Regions from separate parts of the Homo sapiens genome. Here region 2 is linked to region 1. The links are contacts of gene promoters, found by promoter capture Hi-C in human tissues and cell types (Jung and others, 2019). All regions are on one chromosome and are shown on one strand. The core of a region is centred on a gene start or on the middle of the fragment in contact, and the rest is flanking DNA. Distances in the headings are between cores, read along the strand shown. Region 1 holds the start of KCNK9 (potassium two pore domain channel subfamily K member 9). Region 2 overlaps KCNK9 (potassium two pore domain channel subfamily K member 9).

Evidence for each region. Contacts are between HindIII fragments. The study calls those that stand out against the background at their distance.
Region 2: a contact is called between a fragment that was not itself captured here and the fragment with the promoter of KCNK9 in region 1, in 3 of the 25 tissues and cell types used here (dorsolateral prefrontal cortex, pancreas and spleen).

What each region holds. Positions count from the first base shown.
Region 1 is chr8:139,701,407-139,704,420 of GRCh38, reverse strand. KCNK9 (potassium two pore domain channel subfamily K member 9) reads left to right here and starts at 1,298. Exons shown (of 2, transcript NM_001282534.2): 1 at 1,298-1,711. The coding sequence starts at 1,429. RefSeq lists a silencer at 1,281-1,575. The HindIII fragment of the contact is 18,854 bases long and covers 1-3,014 here.
Region 2 is chr8:139,657,073-139,660,028 of GRCh38, reverse strand. All of the region lies in intron 1 of KCNK9 (potassium two pore domain channel subfamily K member 9), which reads left to right. Among named protein-coding and RNA genes, the nearest start is that of KCNK9, 45 kb to the left of the region's middle. The HindIII fragment of the contact is 3,634 bases long and covers 1-2,956 here.

The DNA.
Region 1 (3,014 bases), core at 49-2,548:
TCCCATCCCCCGCCAAAACCCGCCGGCGGCTCCGCCCCCGCCCCCTCCCTGGCGGCTCAGGCCGCCCCTCCCGGGCTCCCTCCGCGTGCGCCCTGCGCCGCGCTGGGTCTGCAGCGGGAGCTGCCACAGCAGCCTCGCCAGCTGGCTGGGGACCAGGCGGGAGGTGGCGCGCCCTGGAGGCTGCGGGAGGGAGGGAGGGAGGGAGGCCCGGCCTCGGCGTAGCCCGGCCCCCGCTCCCCGAGGCCCTCCCGCCGGAGCGGGGCTGCCAAGCGCACACACACACACACACACACACGCACATACACACGCGCACACACACATTCGGGCTCCCAACGGCGCGCACGCACGTAGCGCCCGGGGCAGACCAGCGCGGCGGCCGCCTCCCGGGACGCCCGGACGCCGGAGGGCCCCGACCCCCGCGCGGCTCATGCGCCCGCGTCCGCCCCGCTGCTCCGCGAGGCCCGCGGGACCCCTCCCGCCGCCGCCGCCGCGCCCGCCGCCCCCGGAGGAGCGGGCTGGCCGACCGCCACCGCGCCGTCCCCCGGCCGCCCCCGAAGCCGCTCCATCGCGGTCCCTGCCGTCCTGGGGCCGCGCCCCGCTCCCGCGCCTTGGGGGTTGAGCCGAGCAAACTTCGCGCACCGGCCGACGCCCGGCGGGGACCCCGCTGCGCACCCGCGCGCCCGGGTGGGCGCTGGGCGCGCGGACCTTTGGGGAGCGGGCTGCCCCTCCCGCTGCACCTGCTCGGCCCCCTCCCCGCTTGCAGGGGACTCCAGAGACACCGCCACTTCGCAAACTTTTCCTCCCCACCACCGAGAGGGGGCGAGGAGGGGTAAAAGGGGAAGCAGGTTCCGCTGGGCGCGCGGACCTGCAGGCTCCTTGCTGGGCACCGCCACCCGCGAGCTGGACCCACAGGGGTACCGGGCCCCGCGGCCGCCCTCCGGCCGCTTTCTGGCTCCGGTTCCCGTCCCTGCGTTTCCCGCGGGAGCGGGGGGCGGGGTGCGGAGGGCAGCAAGGCCCGCGCGGTACCCAGCGGGGCCGCCCTGCATGGCCCTGCGCAGTGGGGCGGGCTGCTTCGGCCGGGTCTGGCGCAGGGTGTCGGGGTTCCCGGACGCCTGGCCCCGGCGCTCGAGCAGCCTCCTGTGCCTGTCCGCCTTCTCGGCTGAGCCCGGGCCCGCGCCGCCCCTGCCCCGCCAGCCGCCTCGCGGTGGCGGTGGCTGTGGCGGCCCCAGCGGAGGGGGCCCCCCCCAGCCTCCCCGCCCCCCGCCTCCCCGCTGCTGCTGCTGCTGCTGCCGCCGCCGCTTACAACTTGGAGGCGGCGGCGGCGGCGGCGGAGGAGGAGGCGGCGGCGGCCGCCGGGCGCTGCAGTGGGACGCGCGCGGCTGTGAGCCTGCGGGACATGCCCCCCGCGCCGGCTCCTTGCTGGCGGCCATGAAGAGGCAGAACGTGCGGACTCTGTCCCTCATCGTCTGCACCTTCACCTACCTGCTGGTGGGCGCCGCCGTGTTCGACGCCCTCGAGTCGGACCACGAGATGCGCGAGGAGGAGAAACTCAAAGCCGAGGAGATCCGGATCAAGGGGAAGTACAACATCAGCAGCGAGGACTACCGGCAGCTGGAGCTGGTGATCCTGCAGTCGGAACCGCACCGCGCCGGCGTCCAGTGGAAATTCGCCGGCTCCTTCTACTTTGCGATCACGGTCATCACCACCATAGGTAAGGGCTGGGCGCGCCGCTGGGCTCCCGCGCCCCGGGAGGAGTCCGGGGAGGCGGCTGAGCGCGCCGCGCCGGGCTGGGTGCAGGGCGTCGAGGGTTAAACGCAGCCTCCCTTGGGGGCCTTCCCGCAGCGCCCCCTCCTCTCTAGGGAGCCCCCCCTCCGCGGCGCCTCCGAGCCTCACCCTTCGGGGACCCCACCCGGTGCTCTCCACCGCGCTGGTGTCTGGGCCGGGCGTGCGAGCCCCGAGCGAGTGTGCCTGAGCCGGGAGGGCGGAGGCGCCACTTTTGCGAAGAGAGTGGAGCGCTAAGAATAATCCCATAGCAGACACCCACCCACCCACCGCCCCGGCGCGGGCTGGGCTGCGCGGGGCTCTGAGCCTTACACTTACTACCTCTCTGGGAGTTGGAGAGGGCTGGCCTGGCACCCATGGCTCCTAGAGGGACTCAGGTGGCAGGGGAGTGCGCCTGGGGCGTGAGAGGCACTGACCCTCCGTAGCCCCTGGGCCCCGCTCCAGGCTTCTCTGAGCTCAGATTTCATCTCTCTTCCCCCCGCCCGGCTCCTTTTTTCCCCTGAGTTCCAGTTCTGGAGCTTGGACTTCCCAGGCCCCTGGGAGGAGAGAGTTTGCTCTCTGGTGCTTGCGTTGGGGGTGGCAGCCCCTCAATTGCTCTCAGTAGAGGTGGAGAGTGGGGGCAGGGCAGAACCTGCCCACTCCCTAGGCTGTGACACTGGGAAAGGCCAGTCTAGACATTGCCCAGAAACCAGGGAACTTGAGCCCCAGTCACGAGAGGGGGTCCAGCTGGTAAACTGCAGGGATGCCCGCCAGCCCCACTGCCAAGGGCGCTATTCACAGAGCAGGGTCTCTGGTCGGTCCCGAGGGCAGTGTCCCCTCTAAGGCTGGGGGCTGGGAGGACTCCCGGACGTTATACTTGGAGACCTGTGGGAGCTGGGGCAGGTACCTTCATTCGGGTGGACGTGGTGGATACCCTGCATGGCAGGAGGCAGGGTGGTGTCTCTGTGGTTCACTTGCCCCAGTGAGGCAGGCTGCCTCTCTAGGGCCATCTCCTTGGACTTGCCAAGGCCAGTGTGTTAGTGGGGGTGGTCTGTTTCCTGCACCCCTCAGGGCTTCACACCCCTGTGCCCTGGGCAGGGACCTCCTCCTTCCCCCCTCCCTTCTTCCCAGCTCCTCCTGTCTCGCTTCTCTGGACCTCCTCCTCTAATTTCCCTCTTGATATTTTTCTTTGTCTGGAAATCTCTGCATACTGAAAAAAAAAGGATTTCTCAGTGCCATATGCAACAGGAAGC
Region 2 (2,956 bases), core at 133-2,632, 44 kb after region 1:
CCTTAAGACTCCCACCCCACTCTGTTCTTTCCATCCCATCTCCATCCCTCCCACTTTTTCCTGTTATCACAAATAGGGGATTGTTTTAAAAATCAATATATTGTTTCTGGTATACACACAAATATATATTATCTTATCTCCCCTTTCTTGCACAAAAGGCAGTATACTTGATCATTGTTCTGTCTCTTGCTTTATCTCGTAAGAATAGGCCGGGTGCAGTGGCTCACGCCCGTATTCCCAGCACTTTGGGAGGCCAAGGCAGGCGGATCATGAAGTCAGATCGAGACCATCCTGGTTAACATGGTGAAACCCCATCTCTACTAAAAATACCAAAAAAAAAAAAAAAAAAATTAGCTGGGCATGGTGGTGGGCTCCTGTAGTCCCAGCTACTCGGGTGGCTGAGGCAAGAGAACGGCGTGAACCTGGGGGGTGGAGCTTGCAGTGAGCCGAGATTGTGCCATTGCACTCCAGCCTGGGTGACAGAGCGAGACTCCGTCTCAACAACAACAACAAAAATAAAATCCTCGAGATCTTTCCACACCAATACAGGGGTAGGGTCCAAGCCAGAGAGAGGCCAGGGGTCTAACACCTGCTGCTGGAGGATAGGGGGAGAGGAGTATTCTCTATTTTTAATCAATGTGTCTGAGGCAAAGGACAAAGACAAGAGGGGAAACTCAGCCTGAACCCTCAGTCCTAGGCATGAGCTTTGTTTCAAATATTTGAAGGCAGCTCTTGTAGTGCATAGGGAAAGCCTTGGGTCAGGTCTCAGGGGGTCAGGACTCCAGCCTGGAGCCACCCCTAGCAAGTGAGGGACCTTTAGCAAGTCCCTGACAGCGGCCAAGAGTCAGGGTCGTATCCACGCAGGTGTTTAGGTCCCAGAGCGGTTTCTTGCCTATGAATTCATTTGACTCTCACAAAGCCCCGAAGACTCAGCGGCTTGATACATGCTGTTTCTTCCTCCTAGAATGCCTTTCTGGCTAACTTGTCTTCCCCCAAAACTTGAATTTTTGCTTCACACTCACCTCTAATCACAGACCTTCTGGGAGCTTTCCTGGGCTGCCCCTTCCACAACTGCCTCAGCAAACCTTAGTCCTTCCCGTGTACCCTCATCCACAGCAGTGGTCAGCACCTCGGACAGTGCCTGAGGCAGGTGGACTCTGGAGTAGAGGCCAGGTCCAAGGGCAGTGGCAGACTCAGGACATGGGCAGGGAACAGCCCAGAAGGAGAGCCACCTCGCTTCCTGGACACTGGCCCTGCACTTGGAGGCAGTGTGACCGTGGGGAAGTCCAGGCCTCTCAGCTGCAAAGCTGGGGCTCTGGAGTCTGCCAGTTTCACAGAGCTAGTCCCTGAGGACACATCTGGTTTGTGAGAATAGCATCCAGGACCCAGTTCTTGTTTCTTGGTGGGTGTGGCTGAATTCCAGAAGGCAGGGGTTGTGCTCTCCCCTCCGTGGTATCTTTTGTACAGTGGAGGTAGTGAGGCTTGGATTGAGGGGGAGCTGCGGAAAAGGAAAAGGGTACCAGTGGCTAGGGGCTTGCTGGGCAGCAGGGAAGTCAGGCGTGACCCGTGTAGCCTGAGGCCCGCATCTGGTTTCCTTGTGTTCAGCAACATTGTGGGGTGTTCTGGAGGAAAGAGCTGGGGGCTGGCCTCCAGGTGGGTCCAGCCATGGGGCTTTGGGATGGGTGTGCCTTCCCTGCTCAGCTTTTCCAGCAGTGGTTGTCCCCCCATGACTTACAGCATCCACTAGGTGGTCCCTGCCCCTGGCTGCAGTGCTCACTGGGCTCCTCTCAGCCCTTCAGGCCTGTGGGTGGTAATAGCTGCCCCCTGCTAGCCCCTTGTGTCTTACTGCCCTACTTGGTGCCCTCAACCTCTCCTTGCCTCTGCAAACTCTCTCTTCATTGAAGACAAGGGTCTTTGCCCTGATTTGATCCATCTGAGTGGATGCCATGACCTGTTTCATGCCATGACCCTGACCTGATACAACCAAGGACTTGAGATTTTATTCTAAACCCAACAGGAAACCATAGCCCATTGTCCATATATCTGCCCACCCTACCATGTCATCTCCTCTGCCTGTCCTGTGGGGGAGACCTGCTGTTGGACAGGGAGAATCCTGGGAGCAGGGGCCAGCCATGTTCTCTGCCTGGATGGGGGTGATGTGGGTGGGGACCGCTGGGATAGAGGCGAGTCCTGGAGAGGCCTCCCCACCCGCCAGGGTGATAACGTCCCTCCTCTGTGAGGAGACAGGAAGTTAATTCATGCAAAGCTTTTATGAATAAAATGGGGCCTTGTTAGTAGTGACCATGCGGTGCAGCTTAGCAATGATCTCCATTCTGCATATGGGGAAAGGGAGTGTCCCAGTCAACGCCCTATGCTCAGATCCATCCATCCCCCACTTCTGCAGTGTATGGTGGGAAGCTCAGTTTCCCAGGCGCTATTGCTCTCTGGCTCTGGGGGGTTTTGGCTCTGGGGGGTTTTAGTTCAGGGAGCCAGTGCCGGAAGCTCACAGGGCAGGATGATGAGAAGCTCCACAGGCAGAGAGGGTTCACTGTGGTGTCCCTGGCAGCTGCCACAGGTCCTCCCCGGCTCCTGCTCTGGCCGGGAGACCTGATCCTGACCTGCCTTCTCCCACTGCCTAAGGGTGGAAGCAGCTTCCTGTGCTCTCCTCATCACCTCTGTGACTAATGTTCTGGATTGAATTCCCTCTGTTCTAAATTCTCTCAAGTGGTGGTGGTTTTCTAGCCAGACCCATGAGAAGTTAAGCTCAGAGAGGTTCAGCAACCCACCCAAGGGCACACAGCTAGTTAGGGGCACCAGAATGCTTGAGTGCAATCCTGGCTCAAGCTAGCACCTGCCTTCCCACCATTCTCACTTCCCCAAGAGAGACAAGTGGAGGCTTCCTGAGGGCAGCAAGCTTGGAGCTGAGCCTCAAAAGAAGAGTTGGATTCAGCCAGGT